Regions from separate parts of the Homo sapiens genome. Here all the other regions are linked to region 1. The links are contacts of gene promoters, found by promoter capture Hi-C in blood cells and fetal thymus (Javierre and others, 2016). All regions are on one chromosome and are shown on one strand. Each heading gives the region's core, a stretch centred on a gene start or on the middle of the fragment in contact. The rest is flanking DNA. Distances are from core to core; before and after follow the strand shown. Region 1 holds the start of H4C8 (H4 clustered histone 8). Region 2 overlaps BTN1A1 (butyrophilin subfamily 1 member A1). Region 3 has its middle 8.5 kb from the start of H1-2. Region 4 overlaps HFE (homeostatic iron regulator). Region 5 holds the start of BTN2A1 (butyrophilin subfamily 2 member A1).

What was found. Contacts are between HindIII fragments. The CHiCAGO score rates a contact against its expected background, and 5 or more counts as called.
Region 2: a contact is called between a fragment that was not itself captured here and the fragment with the promoter of H4C8 in region 1, in 1 of 17 cell types (M2 macrophages). The highest score is 5.7, in M2 macrophages.
Region 3: a contact is called between a fragment that was not itself captured here and the fragment with the promoter of H4C8 in region 1, in 2 of 17 cell types (monocytes and naive CD4 T cells). The highest score is 7.5, in monocytes.
Region 4: a contact is called between a fragment that was not itself captured here and the fragment with the promoter of H4C8 in region 1, in 1 of 17 cell types (monocytes). The highest score is 5.3, in monocytes.
Region 5: a contact is called between the fragment with the promoter of BTN2A1 here and the fragment with the promoter of H4C8 in region 1, in 11 of 17 cell types (naive B cells, non-activated CD4 T cells, M0 macrophages and 8 more). The highest score is 8.0, in naive B cells.

Annotation. Positions count from the first base shown.
Region 1 is chr6:26,284,087-26,286,963 of GRCh38, forward strand. H4C8 (H4 clustered histone 8) reads right to left here and starts at 1,448. Exons shown (of 1, transcript NM_003543.4): 1 at 1,040-1,448. The coding sequence starts at 1,413. The coding sequence ends at 1,102. It overlaps TRX-CAT1-2 (tRNA-iMet (anticodon CAT) 1-2), which reads left to right and starts at 2,440; the gene lies at 2,440-2,511. It overlaps LOC124901287 (a long non-coding RNA gene), which reads left to right and starts at 1,594. Exons shown (of 2, transcript XR_007059520.1): 1 at 1,594-1,967. RefSeq lists enhancers at 289-1,024, 733-1,932, 1,025-1,760, 1,139-1,298, 1,449-1,838 and a silencer at 2,179-2,228. The HindIII fragment of the contact is 3,784 bases long and covers 746-2,877 here.
Region 2 is chr6:26,509,825-26,512,701 of GRCh38, forward strand. It overlaps BTN1A1 (butyrophilin subfamily 1 member A1), which reads left to right. Exons shown (of 8, transcript NM_001732.3): 8 at 1-601. The region is part of intron 1 of LOC107986583 (a long non-coding RNA gene); the gene reads right to left. Among named protein-coding and RNA genes, the nearest start is that of TRL-CAG1-7, 9.9 kb to the right of the region's middle. The HindIII fragment of the contact is 1,482 bases long and covers 689-2,170 here.
Region 3 is chr6:26,063,578-26,066,454 of GRCh38, forward strand. No RefSeq gene overlaps it. Among named protein-coding and RNA genes, the nearest start is that of H1-2, 8.5 kb to the left of the region's middle. RefSeq lists a silencer at 1,050-1,189. The HindIII fragment of the contact is 1,676 bases long and covers 688-2,363 here.
Region 4 is chr6:26,091,364-26,094,240 of GRCh38, forward strand. It overlaps HFE (homeostatic iron regulator), which reads left to right. Exons shown (of 6, transcript NM_000410.4): 3 at 1-226; 4 at 1,322-1,597; 5 at 1,756-1,869; 6 at 2,823-2,877. The coding sequence ends at 2,863. Among named protein-coding and RNA genes, the nearest start is that of HFE, 5.4 kb to the left of the region's middle. The HindIII fragment of the contact is 3,702 bases long and covers 1-2,877 here.
Region 5 is chr6:26,456,472-26,459,348 of GRCh38, forward strand. BTN2A1 (butyrophilin subfamily 2 member A1) reads left to right here and starts at 1,484. Exons shown (of 8, transcript NM_007049.5): 1 at 1,484-1,671; 2 at 2,136-2,247. The coding sequence starts at 2,166. RefSeq lists enhancers at 1,095-1,354, 1,515-1,674. The HindIII fragment of the contact is 11,033 bases long and covers 1-2,877 here.

The sequences.
Region 1 (2,877 bases), core at 198-2,697:
AATCATTGTCCTGATGCCTGAATGTGTACTTTTTCAAAAGGCGATCATTGCTGGTTAAGAATTTAAGTTTTCGTGGCCGGGCGCAGTGCCTCATGCCTGTAATCCCAACACTTTTGGGAGGTCGAGGCGGGTGGATCACGAGATCAGGAGTTCGAGACCAGCCTGGCCAACATGGTGAAACCCCATCTCTACTAAAAACACAAAAATTAGGCGGGCGGCTGTAATACCAGCTATTCAGGAGGCTGAGGCAGGAGAATCGCTTGAAACTGTAAGGCGGAGGTTGCGGTGAGCCGAAATCGCGCCACTGCACTCCAGCCTGGATGAAAGAGCAAAACTCCGTCTCAACAACAACAAAATAAGTTATGGTGATGTTTCTATATTGCTCACTAAGCGGTACCCTACCTTTTAATATTTTCGTAATATTCAAAAACACATTTTAAGTCTATTGGAAACAATACTTGCAAGCTCTCAAGTGAACATTTATATTGTTACCCCACACTGCCTTTTGTAGACGAGTTTTGTCACCAAGTCAAAAGCAGCAGCGCGCACGCCGCCTGGACTTGGGTCTGCGATCCTACTCACGCAGATGTGTTGCGCTCACGGATTCGCCTTGGTTTAAGGCCCGCCGTCTGGGTGCGAGCTTTCTTTGTTTTTAGCCCTTCCCGCCATTTTGGAAAGGGTAACTTGCAGTCTCTCCGCGAAGTTTCCAACTTCTGTAGTCTTTGAGAACCTTACGAACGCTTCAAGCTTAAACTGAAGGAGGAAGGCCCACGGGAATTATAAACTGTCACAATCCAGCTTACTCACTGATATCTAGTGTTAAAATGCCACAAGAAAGCTAAACATATTCAACATACCAACTTCCCTCAAGCAGAAAACAGTGGCTTTAAGTACTTTATGCCCAAATCCTAAACATGCGAGATTAAGCACGAGTAATTAAACGTTACCTGCAAATCTACACATGTGCACAGTAACTACTTCTCAGCAAAAATCTGGAACAAAGCAGGATAACAAGATGTCTGCTCTTTTATGAAAAAAGTGGGCGGCCCTGAAAAGGGCCTTTGGTTGAAAATGAAAATAAGAGTGCAGCAAGCAGGAGCCTTAGCCACCGAAGCCGTAAAGAGTGCGTCCCTGTCGCTTCAGCGCGTAGACCACATCCATTGCTGTCACGGTCTTGCGTTTGGCGTGCTCTGTGTAAGTGACAGCGTCACGAATCACGTTCTCCAGGAACACCTTCAGAACACCACGAGTCTCCTCATAGATAAGGCCAGAAATTCGCTTGACACCGCCGCGACGAGCAAGGCGCCGGATAGCTGGCTTAGTGATGCCCTGGATGTTATCGCGCAAAACCTTGCGATGACGCTTAGCTCCTCCCTTACCCAAACCTTTTCCACCTTTACCACGGCCAGACATGACTAAGCAACTTCTAAAACCAACTTAAGAAACCTAAACGCCAAGGCAAAGCAACGCCCTTATATGCCGGGAATTCGGACCTAATTGAAGACTGAAAGCGCGCATACCGGAACTTTGGTCCTGCTTCTTGGCCCCACCCCGCATAGCCCAGCCCTGGATGACGTCACCAACGACTCCAGCCTTTGGCATCTGAGCGCCGGCTCCGCGGAGGCGTCTCTTGCAATTGCTGGGAAATAGGAATGAGAGTTTTAAGGCTGTTTTAACAACCAAATCAGATTAAATAAATTAACATGTTTAAATTGTTATCAATTGTTCCTTCAGTTGCTTTAGGACGATTGGAGAGGAGCCTCGGTCCACAAGACCGGAAGCCTGAGGAGTGCAGCTTTGTCCCCAAGGTCACAGTGACTGGCTTTCTGCTGCCGGCTGTAAAGCACATGCGGACCGAAACCCCCCTTCGGAAGTGTTTGAAAACTGCAAGATTTCACCCTCTCCATCACCAAGCCAAGGGAAACATAACCAAAAGGGTTTTCTTCCCGATGGCGAAGGCATGATAGGTTAGTGATTCGTGGTAGAATTATTGCCCTCCGCGCGGAGGCCTGATTCTATTCCCAGTTTGTTCTCTTCTTTCCCTGCTTATTAAAATTTGTAATTGCCATTTAAATATCTAACTGCCCCTCACAACTGCACCCAGTGTGTAGGTTTCGGGGTGGGGGTTTTTTTTTTTCCTTTTTTTAATTTTATTGAGACAGGGTCTCGCTATGTTGCCTGCCTGGGTCTTCCAAAGTGCAGTGACTACAGGCGTGAGCTACCGCGCCTAGCCCACCAGTGTATTGATATTTATTTTTCTATCCCTAGTTTTGTTTTCTGTTTGATTCTGGTGATTCCTTTTTCCAAAGTGAGTTGGCAACCTGTGGTAGCCAAAGAAGTAGGCAACTGCTCGTAGGTTTTTTCTTAAATTACGAGGTAGTCTGAACGCATCTCCTGTAAGTAGTTAAGAGTACTGTGAGACCGTGTGCCTGGCAGAACAGCAGAGTGGCGCAGCGGAAGCGTGCTGGGCCCATAACCCAGAGGTCGATGGATCGAAACCATCCTCTGCTAGGTCCTTTTTTTTTCTCCCCCCCCGTCTATTTTCCTGAGGATCCCTTTTTTTTAAGTTACAGTTTTTTAGGTTAAACAATGACGAAAGAAAACAAAATGAACCCGAGTATTTCTTTAATTCCAGAATTACAAGCATTTCCGGGAAATAATGTGAAACTACAATCTCTGCATGTACAATTTTGATTTTCATGGACACCCAAGTGTCATTAATCAATATGTCATCTGTAAACAAAGCAAATTTCTCTTGTTTAGAGGCTATACCACTGTTGCAGCCAGTTATGACAGTTGTAAGTTAACCTGCCAAGCAAGGAGAATGCTTACATAAACTGAGTGCCAAGGGTGGGGTGGGGTGGGAGCCCAGGAATG
Region 2 (2,877 bases), core at 180-2,679, 230 kb after region 1:
GTCAGGCAGAAAGCGTGATAGAGGAGAGAATTTTTGACAAAACTCAAAAGTTGTTTGCACAGCTGTTCTTTGTACCCTGTTCCTTTCTCTGCGCCCTCCTGTTTCTCCCTTGCCTGGAAGTCATTCCACCCTCAATTTGTTGATCCACAAGTTTCCAGTTGTCCTCTTCTTTTTGTTATAGCATCTCTCTATTTCAAAGACATTCCTAGAAGTCATCCTTCAGTGATATCACCACTTGCTCAGTCACCATCTCAACCTTATGTCACCTCAGCCCTCATCTCAATGCCCAAACCCCTTACACACACCTTCAGTTAGCTTCAACTGCCTCCGTTTCCACACTGTGCACCTTTCACTTTCCCTACCCAGCTTTCCTACATGCTGCCTCTCCTCAGGGTCCCCTGAATGCTGCATCATTGTGTTCAGTGCAGCTGGACTGATTGCACCTGTGTATTTGCCCCTGAGCACTTTCCTTTACACATGTGGCTTGTCTTGCCAATAGACTCCAGGCTTATACCTTCCATTTCCATCGTATTCTCCAGTTTCCAGGATAGACGTTGCTCATCGTCTTTACCTAATAAATAAGTTTGTCTGATTGCTGAAAGCAACCTCTTAACCTTTCTTTTTTAATATCAACTGAAACAAAATAAAACATAGGGCAAGAAACCTGCATGGGAATGCAGCTGTCTAAAGCTTTGCCATTGTATGTGGTCTAAGACCCATCCCTAGGCCTGATGGCAGTGGGCTCACCAGGGCAGGTGCACATGGGGGCTGATGCCTCATGAGGGAACAACTGCTTACCAGGGTCTTCAAGCAGGAATACAGAATCTCAACTCAGGAACAATTTTTTATTAGTCCATCCTCATATTTCTGTAAAGAAATACCTGAGACTGGGTAATTTATAAAGATAAGAAGTTTAGGCCGGGCACGGTGGCTCATGCCTGTAATCCCAGCACTTTGGAAGGCCGAGGCGGGTGGATCACGAGGTCAGGAGTTTGAAACCAGCCTGACAAACATGGTGAAACCCCGTCTCTACTAAAAACACAAAAATTAGCCGGGTGTGGTGGCAGGCACCCGTAATCCCAGCTGCTCAGAAGGCTGAGGCAGGAGAATCACTTGAACCCGGGAGGCAGAGGTTGCAGTGAGCTGAGATCGCGCCACTGCACTCCAGCCTGGGTGACAGAGCAAGACTCCATTTAAAAAAAAAAAAAAAAAAAAGATAAGAAGTTTAATTGGCTCATAGTTATGTAGGCATGACAGCTTCTGCTCAGCTTCTGGGGAGGCCTCAGAAAATTTACAATCATGGCAGAAGGCGAAGGGGAAGCAGGCACATCTTACATGGCCATGGCAGAAGGAAGACAGCAGCAGGGACGGGGGAGGAGAGAGGGGGGAGCGGGGGATGTGCTACACACTCTTAAACAATCAGATGTCATAATTAGTCACTCATTCACTATCACAAAAATAGCATTGGCCGGGCATGGTGGCTCACGCCTGTAATCCCAGCACTTTAGAAGGCCGAGGCAGGCAGATCACCTGAGGTCAGGAGTTCAAGACCAGCCTAACATGGTGAAACCCCGTCTCTACTAAAAATACCAAAAAAATTAGCCGGGCTTGGTGGCACATGCCTGTAGTCCCAGCTACTTGGGAGGCTGAGGCAGGAGAATCGGTTGAACCTGGGAGGCAGAGGTTGCAGTGAGCCGAGATCATGCCACTCACTTCACTCCAGCCTAGGCGACAGAGAGAGACTCTGTCTCCCAAAAAAATAGCACTGAGGGGATGGTGCTAAACCACTCATGAGAAACCGCCCCCATGATCTAATTACCTCCCAACAGGCTGCACCTCCAACATTAGGGATTACAATTGAACATGGGATTTGGGTGGGGACTCAGATCCAAACTATATCAAATAATATCCAAAGATCACCCACCCCATTTTTTTTCTTTTAATTACAAGGCCTTAACATTAAAGATTTCCCAAATATTTCCTCCTCTTGCAAAAGTACTGTTAAAGAGTTGGCTTCACTTACCTATACCATTGACCAGGTTACCTTTACAGTAGTAGAAATGAAGTTCACCACCCAAACAGGGGCAGAGGGTAGGTAGCCATTGGCACTCTGGCCTTTTGGATAGCTGAACACACGGAGGTTTCTGGAGGGCAGTGTGTGCACAGAGAAAGCTTCGGAGCTGCATGCCCCTTCCCACACATCTTGCCCTGTACATATTTTCCATCTGTCTTTTCATCTGTATACTTTGTAATATCCTTTATAATAAATCAGTAAACATGTATTTGCAGGATAGGTTGGATAAAATCAAGAGTAAAGTCTATTGAAGGAAGGAGGAGGCTTAGTAGCATCAGTCCCCGGATTTAAAAGGGATGTTTGAACGAAACTGGGATTCCGAGAAGAGGAAAGAGAAGACTAAAAAAAGGAGCTAAAAGAAATTGCTCGATCTATTTATAATACATTATGATGTATTATGAAAGTAAATACCACTCTAATACTTTCAGAATACATTATAATCCTCCCTGCACTTACTTGCTTAAATCCAGCATCTATTTCTGCAATATTAAAATCCTCCAAAGCATTCTATTTCTTTTAGGGGCAAGTAGGCAGTGGAGAAGCTGTGAGCCTGCATTGCATTCTAGTGTGGGCCACAGAGAAGAGGACTCTCAAGTTGAAGAATGGATGGTATCAGCCAGAAAGAGGAAAATGGGCTTGTTTCTGGAGCTGAGGGGAGAGAAAAGGGGGTCAAATGGGAATTCGCTTGGGGTTATACATTACATTCAAGTGTGTATTTAGATACAAGCCTTTACCTCAACACCTTCCTTACCCCCATTCTGAATAGATCTCATGCCAAAGTAAAAATAAAACCAATTCATAAT
Region 3 (2,877 bases), core at 276-2,775, 220 kb before region 1:
AAAGAATTCTGATGACACTCACATAACTACCCAGTCCCAACTTTCTGTATCCAAGGTGTGTGCATACCTTTGATAGCAGGCAGGTGTGCCTAGCCAATATATTAGGAGCATGGTATTCCAGCACTCTGCACTTTTTTACTATAGAATTCATCTCAACCTGCTTACATTACATGAAAGTTTTGATTGATATCAAATTTTTATTATGTTTGCTTATCAAAGGATTTGTAATTATGCTTCAGTTGATACATAGATTGTTTATATTTTTCATGGTTACTTGAAGCACTTATATTTTCCTCATACTTTTACAAAGTAATCAAGGAAAAATACAGAGGCAGCTTAGTATATTAGTCAAAAGAATAATTAGACTGTCTTGGAACCTGGAATGTCTGAGTTCAAATTCAATTTTGCCGTTTTACCAGCTGTGTGACTTTGGGTGAGTTAATAAACCTTTTCGTGTCTCAGTGTTCTCACATGTAAAGAGACAATAATAAGCCTACCTGTTTCATGGGTCATTATGAGGATTAAGGAGTTAACATTTAAATAGTTCTTAGAACAACCTCTGACATATTTTAAGTACAAAAATATATACATATATTAAATAATAACTTTTCTAAAACATCCTACCTACAATCTTGTGTGCAAATTGGTGGCTCAATTCTGCAACTGTTGTTGGTGGTGTTGTTGTTAAGCTTTTGTTTGTCATGACTGTTATCAGTAATATTAATACAGACAGTTAACTGAACCCTTCCTCTGCACCAGGCATTATATGGACTATTTTCATTCTGACTCCCTGCATTCTATGAGACAACCACCATTGTAATCATTCTCACGTTGCCAATAAGGAAATGGAGAATGAGAATTCAGACTTCTCCAAGAAGTGCTGCAGACTGATTATAAATCATGCATCCTAAACACACACATATTAAAGTATCAACTAAATCAAACAGAATAAAACTTTTGTTTTTCTATCTACAAAATGCATGAATTAAAATATGCCCCAACTACTTAACTAATATATTTAGTAAGTAGAGGGATGGAAGCGTTTTCACTCCTTCAATACATTCTTCATCAACCTCTCTCACCTTACCCCTCTGTCACAGGCATTTCCTATGTCATGCGGTTTTTCTGATGTACGCTAGGTGGCAGTCAAAACCACGAACTCTTGAAAGAGAGTATATTCCTATTTTTCTGCAGCCTCAACCTCCAGGGCTCAAACGATCCTCCTGCCTCAGCCTCCTGAGTAGCTGGGGCCACAGGTGCGAGCCACCACACCTGGCTAACTTTTACATTTTTGATAGAGACGGGGTCGCCATGTTAGCCAGCCTGGTATCGAATTCCTGACCTCAGGTGATCTGCCCGCCTCAGCCTCCCAAAATGTTGGAATAACAGGAGTGAGCCACAGTACCTGGCCGGTAATTTTTAACTTCTAGCTATACACTTAGTTTTTTGTCCTTTTCAGTGGACAGAAATTATAATGCCTGTTTGACAGGGGATAATTCTGAGGCACTGGGAAGCCATGAGACTGCATGGATTGCACAGGCAGGCAAGAACATGGGAAGGAACAAGTGTCTTAGACACTTGTCTCAGTGGTCTAGAAAAATCATGCTAGCTGATTCATTCACTCCACAAACAACTGATCAACATCTTCAAGAAGCCTAACAATGTACTGAGTTCAGGGGACAAGAAAATAATTCAGACAGGCTCTACCTTCATGGTGGTGTTTGAAGAATAGGGATCTAGAAAACGGTAGGTAATAGTGGCTGTGCAAAAGATATCAGAGATGATATGAAAAGGAGGGACTAGACCATTTTACCCAGGAGTGGAGGTTAAACATAGGGTCTTTAAGGGAAACGTAAAAATATTAATTCTTTTCATTTTTGAAGTAAAATGACCATCGCTTCTCGGCCGTTTGGCTAAGAACAAGTGAAGTAAAATGACTGAGGATGACAGACATAAATACTGCTATACAAACATGGTAGCACTGAAATTGGCTCTTGCCTGACAGGAAGCAAAATTATAAAATTCATTATTTAGATATATCAATAATGATGGTGATCAGGCTGTAATAATAATGTTATTAATCATTATGTATCAATAAGAATACAGGTGTGTGACTTTACAATGTGCCTAAGAGCAACCCAATATTTTGATTGTAAACCACATTCCCTTAAACACACACACACCTCAAACAAGACCCCATAAAGCAGACTGCACTAAAGTGGAGGTTATGTAAAAGTCCAACAGAATAAGAACCCTCCCCCATTGTGTATTAATCTGTGAACTAAAAAAAAATTTCATTAAATTGAAAATATCTAATTGTCAACTAGCAATTTTAAAGAGTTTAGGCAGAAAATGAAATATAAAGCTTTTTTTTAACTTTTAGATTTTTCAAAGCTAGCAGAACTGCTGAAGAATAACAATTCAAAACATAGGTTTGCTTTGGTTTCAATCTCTGTAGCCAAAGGCATTTACAATGTAGGATGTTGTTTGTGCTTTCAGACACTAGATGACGCTCCAAATCAAAATGCCGGTAGTTGGACAGCCCCTGATCAAGCCGCCCGGCAAATCATTAACTGGGTTGACACTGTATTACTCAGCAGATTTCAAAACTCATTCACATACAGAGTCTTTTGGTGGACAAAAATAATTATTACCCACAATTGACAGTGACAGTACTGAGAAGCTGGGAAACTGAAGTAGGACCCTGGAGCAGCCAAGTACAGAGACTGGCTCCCAGGACCTTAGGAGTTAATACTATTCCTAAAGAGAATAAATTGTCAAATAGACAAGAAATTCATGTGGGTTGATGCATTCACTTCCCCAAAACAATTATTAAGCAGTAGAAATGATAACTACGCTGGTAGTGGAAATAGTTTA
Region 4 (2,877 bases), core at 146-2,645, 190 kb before region 1:
AGTACCGAGGGCTACTGGAAGTACGGGTATGATGGGCAGGACCACCTTGAATTCTGCCCTGACACACTGGATTGGAGAGCAGCAGAACCCAGGGCCTGGCCCACCAAGCTGGAGTGGGAAAGGCACAAGATTCGGGCCAGGCAGAACAGGGCCTACCTGGAGAGGGACTGCCCTGCACAGCTGCAGCAGTTGCTGGAGCTGGGGAGAGGTGTTTTGGACCAACAAGGTATGGTGGAAACACACTTCTGCCCCTATACTCTAGTGGCAGAGTGGAGGAGGTTGCAGGGCACGGAATCCCTGGTTGGAGTTTCAGAGGTGGCTGAGGCTGTGTGCCTCTCCAAATTCTGGGAAGGGACTTTCTCAATCCTAGAGTCTCTACCTTATAATTGAGATGTATGAGACAGCCACAAGTCATGGGTTTAATTTCTTTTCTCCATGCATATGGCTCAAAGGGAAGTGTCTATGGCCCTTGCTTTTTATTTAACCAATAATCTTTTGTATATTTATACCTGTTAAAAATTCAGAAATGTCAAGGCCGGGCACGGTGGCTCACCCCTGTAATCCCAGCACTTTGGGAGGCCGAGGCGGGTGGTCACAAGGTCAGGAGTTTGAGACCAGCCTGACCAACATGGTGAAACCCGTCTCTAAAAAAATACAAAAATTAGCTGGTCACAGTCATGCGCACCTGTAGTCCCAGCTAATTGGAAGGCTGAGGCAGGAGCATCGCTTGAACCTGGGAAGCGGAAGTTGCACTGAGCCAAGATCGCGCCACTGCACTCCAGCCTAGGCAGCAGAGTGAGACTCCATCTTAAAAAAAAAAAAAAAAAAAAAAAGAGAATTCAGAGATCTCAGCTATCATATGAATACCAGGACAAAATATCAAGTGAGGCCACTTATCAGAGTAGAAGAATCCTTTAGGTTAAAAGTTTCTTTCATAGAACATAGCAATAATCACTGAAGCTACCTATCTTACAAGTCCGCTTCTTATAACAATGCCTCCTAGGTTGACCCAGGTGAAACTGACCATCTGTATTCAATCATTTTCAATGCACATAAAGGGCAATTTTATCTATCAGAACAAAGAACATGGGTAACAGATATGTATATTTACATGTGAGGAGAACAAGCTGATCTGACTGCTCTCCAAGTGACACTGTGTTAGAGTCCAATCTTAGGACACAAAATGGTGTCTCTCCTGTAGCTTGTTTTTTTCTGAAAAGGGTATTTCCTTCCTCCAACCTATAGAAGGAAGTGAAAGTTCCAGTCTTCCTGGCAAGGGTAAACAGATCCCCTCTCCTCATCCTTCCTCTTTCCTGTCAAGTGCCTCCTTTGGTGAAGGTGACACATCATGTGACCTCTTCAGTGACCACTCTACGGTGTCGGGCCTTGAACTACTACCCCCAGAACATCACCATGAAGTGGCTGAAGGATAAGCAGCCAATGGATGCCAAGGAGTTCGAACCTAAAGACGTATTGCCCAATGGGGATGGGACCTACCAGGGCTGGATAACCTTGGCTGTACCCCCTGGGGAAGAGCAGAGATATACGTGCCAGGTGGAGCACCCAGGCCTGGATCAGCCCCTCATTGTGATCTGGGGTATGTGACTGATGAGAGCCAGGAGCTGAGAAAATCTATTGGGGGTTGAGAGGAGTGCCTGAGGAGGTAATTATGGCAGTGAGATGAGGATCTGCTCTTTGTTAGGGGGTGGGCTGAGGGTGGCAATCAAAGGCTTTAACTTGCTTTTTCTGTTTTAGAGCCCTCACCGTCTGGCACCCTAGTCATTGGAGTCATCAGTGGAATTGCTGTTTTTGTCGTCATCTTGTTCATTGGAATTTTGTTCATAATATTAAGGAAGAGGCAGGGTTCAAGTGAGTAGGAACAAGGGGGAAGTCTCTTAGTACCTCTGCCCCAGGGCACAGTGGGAAGAGGGGCAGAGGGGATCTGGCATCCATGGGAAGCATTTTTCTCATTTATATTCTTTGGGGACACCAGCAGCTCCCTGGGAGACAGAAAATAATGGTTCTCCCCAGAATGAAAGTCTCTAATTCAACAAACATCTTCAGAGCACCTACTATTTTGCAAGAGCTGTTTAAGGTAGTACAGGGGCTTTGAGGTTGAGAAGTCACTGTGGCTATTCTCAGAACCCAAATCTGGTAGGGAATGAAATTGATAGCAAGTAAATGTAGTTAAAGAAGACCCCATGAGGTCCTAAAGCAGGCAGGAAGCAAATGCTTAGGGTGTCAAAGGAAAGAATGATCACATTCAGCTGGGGATCAAGATAGCCTTCTGGATCTTGAAGGAGAAGCTGGATTCCATTAGGTGAGGTTGAAGATGATGGGAGGTCTACACAGACGGAGCAACCATGCCAAGTAGGAGAGTATAAGGCATACTGGGAGATTAGAAATAATTACTGTACCTTAACCCTGAGTTTGCGTAGCTATCACTCACCAATTATGCATTTCTACCCCCTGAACATCTGTGGTGTAGGGAAAAGAGAATCAGAAAGAAGCCAGCTCATACAGAGTCCAAGGGTCTTTTGGGATATTGGGTTATGATCACTGGGGTGTCATTGAAGGATCCTAAGAAAGGAGGACCACGATCTCCCTTATATGGTGAATGTGTTGTTAAGAAGTTAGATGAGAGGTGAGGAGACCAGTTAGAAAGCCAATAAGCATTTCCAGATGAGAGATAATGGTTCTTGAAATCCAATAGTGCCCAGGTCTAAATTGAGATGGGTGAATGAGGAAAATAAGGAAGAGAGAAGAGGCAAGATGGTGCCTAGGTTTGTGATGCCTCTTTCCTGGGTCTCTTGTCTCCACAGGAGGAGCCATGGGGCACTACGTCTTAGCTGAACGTGAGTGACACGCAGCCTGCAG
Region 5 (2,877 bases), core at 234-2,733, 170 kb after region 1:
CATCAAAGAGCTTTCTCTGCAGAAGGAACCTACTGGTTCCTCCTTTCCAGTCCTAGAAATCCTGACCTAGAGTGGCTTAATCCTGCTAGCACCTCTCTCTCGCACTCTGGTGCCAAATGACTCCAGGAACTGGGCCATGATGTGGTGGGAATGACCTTACCCTGAGCATGTCACTCATGCATTGAACAACAGCTAAGAGCAGAGCTTAGAGCTTAGAGCTGGGCCCTGTAAGGTGAGAGGAATCACATCCTGCAGAAGTCTGTCCTGAGAAGCAGGTACTCCTGTCACAGCAGAGACACAGTGGATACCTGAGTAACAATAATACAAGACAGGACGTGGGAACAGCAAAAGATTTGGGTGTCAGAAGAGGCCGAGAACACTTCAGGCAGGAACATTCAGAGTTGTTCTTGGAGGAAGTAGGCACGAAGGCTGGGCAGGATTTCACGGGGCAGAGATGGAGCAAGCAATTGAAATGAAAGCCATGGCATGGGAAAAGGAGCACTGGCCACAGGGAGTGCAACGTTGTGATGCAAGGCCACTGTGGAGCCATTGCTAGCGTATTAACTGCAAAGTTTTGAATTGAATCAGAAGGGAATTGGAGGCCTCCAGACTAAGCATTTAGACACTTGAGGGGAATATTGACAACTGGGCCTCGGGAAGATTATTCTGGAAGATATCTTTACAATTACAAGATTGGAGCCTTTGGGAGAGGGATGATGTTTACGGGAGGATGGTATGTGTGCTAGTGTGTGTGTCTGTGTGTGGCTCTTGGACCCAACCTGACCACCTACTATCTAGAAGGTGAAGGACAACTAGAAAGTTTTGCTCAATTCCATCTTCTGCCACCACCAGAATGCCACCTCCCTGAGGGAAAAGGTTTTTGATCCTCAGTCAGGATTCTCAGCACCTCTTATCCGATAGCTTTGGAATGAATGGCAAGGCCTTCATAACAGCCACTGCAACTGCTGTCTCCTTTCCTTTGCTACCCCTCCCGCTCCAGCCATGCCAGCTTCCCCCAAGCCCTCCTGCGCTCCAGGCCCAACCTCCAAAGCCAGCAACTTGAACAGGAGTCCTCTGGCTTTGGAAAGGGGGCGGCTTACGTTTTCCTGCTCATGTTTCCTCCCCAGCAAAATTGCCCTCTACATAGAGAGGCCTCTCCTTGTGGACACCAGCAAAGCCACCGACCTCAGTGACAAACCCCAGGGAATCTCCCCAAGGAATCTCAAAGCGAGAGAGAGAGAGAGAGTCTTGAGAGAGAAAGAGAGAGAGAGAGAGTCTTGCTTTCGAACAAAGAAAAAGGAAATAAAAAGACCCGATAATCTCAAAAGGTTATTTGCTGCTTGAAATTTGTGATTCGGTGTATTCTACCCAGCAACTGCTGAGAAATAAGGTTCGACACCATTGGCTGGTTCACTCACACCCGGCCAATCCTGGGCTCTAAAATACTTAGGGAACTCTTGGGACTGTGGAAGCCCAGGAGACCAGATTTCGTTTCCTGCATCTCCAAACATGGCGACCTAGGAGAAGGGGAAGAACAATTTTTTCTCCTCTTTTGGGAAGGTTTGTGTCTAGTAGTGCCTGTGCCCCTGGGCAGATTGGAGAGAAGAGGGACGACTGGAGAATCGTCGAGAACCAGCGGAGAAAAGAAAAAGCAACGTTTAATTCTAGAAGGTAGGAAACGGAGGGGAGGCGCTACAGCTCCGGGGTGGGCACAGTAGGTGGGGGAAGCGGGGTCTGCTGTGGACACGAGACGGGGTCCTGGGACAGGGAAAGCCCACCGGTGGGGAGGCGCGGCCTCGCCTGTCTTTGCCTCAGGCTGCCCGGCCTGGGTCGCGGGGAGGAGGAAGTGAAGGGAGGAGGGTGTGGTAGAATCCAGCGACAACTGAAGAAACTGCATTCTGGCCAGAGAAGTGAGCCGAGGAGGGCGGAAAAAGGCCCCCTTGATCTTGGCATTGATGGCTTACTTCATGGAATGTTTAAGGAATCCCTCTCTCGGGACATACCTGAGCCTTCGGATGCAGGGGACTCCCTGAAGTTGGGGCACTGATGAGACCTACTTGAGTGACGGGAGAGGTTGGGCCCGACCAGCACTGAGGTGCCAAGACTCCTAGGCTGATTCTCCTCTGTAACCCTAGGCCTCCTGTCCCTGCCTGCTCTGGGTGCTCATGGAATCAGCTGCTGCCCTGCACTTCTCCCGGCCAGCCTCCCTCCTCCTCCTCCTCCTCAGCCTGTGTGCACTGGTCTCAGGTAGGGATGTGTGCCACTTGCTGCTGTCACCTATCAGAAAGGAACATCAACCCTGTAGTCTGCAAAGGGAAAGAAAGAAGGACTGTGGAGTTGTTGACTTACCCTTTCATTCTGAACATGTTCATTGAATTTATACCAGCACTGTCCAAAAGGAATACAGTGAGGCACAAAGGCCGAGTGCATGTACAATTGCAAATTTTCAAAAAAAATTAAATTTTACTTTTTATTTTAAAAAGTAAAAAGAAACATGAAATAAATTTGTATACTATATTTTGTTTCGCCCCAAATAATCAAATACGAATATTTAAATACTTAGTTAATATACCATATTACCAATGAGATAGTCAACATTTTGAAATTTTAAATCTTCATAATCCTGTGTGTATTTTACACTTACAGCTCATTTCAGTTGGAACTAGCTAGTGGATATGTGTCCTATTGCACGGCTCAAGTTTACAGTACACTCAGGCACAGCACTAGATTGGGAAATCGAGGAAAATCCCCTCAAGGGCACAGGGTGGACAGAGGGTGCTCAGGGCAGGTTCCTCAGGGTTTCCTTCATGAAGCAGAAGCACACTTTATAGTTACTGCTCCCAGGGGTGCTGTCGACTAGCCACAGCTACTGGTCCC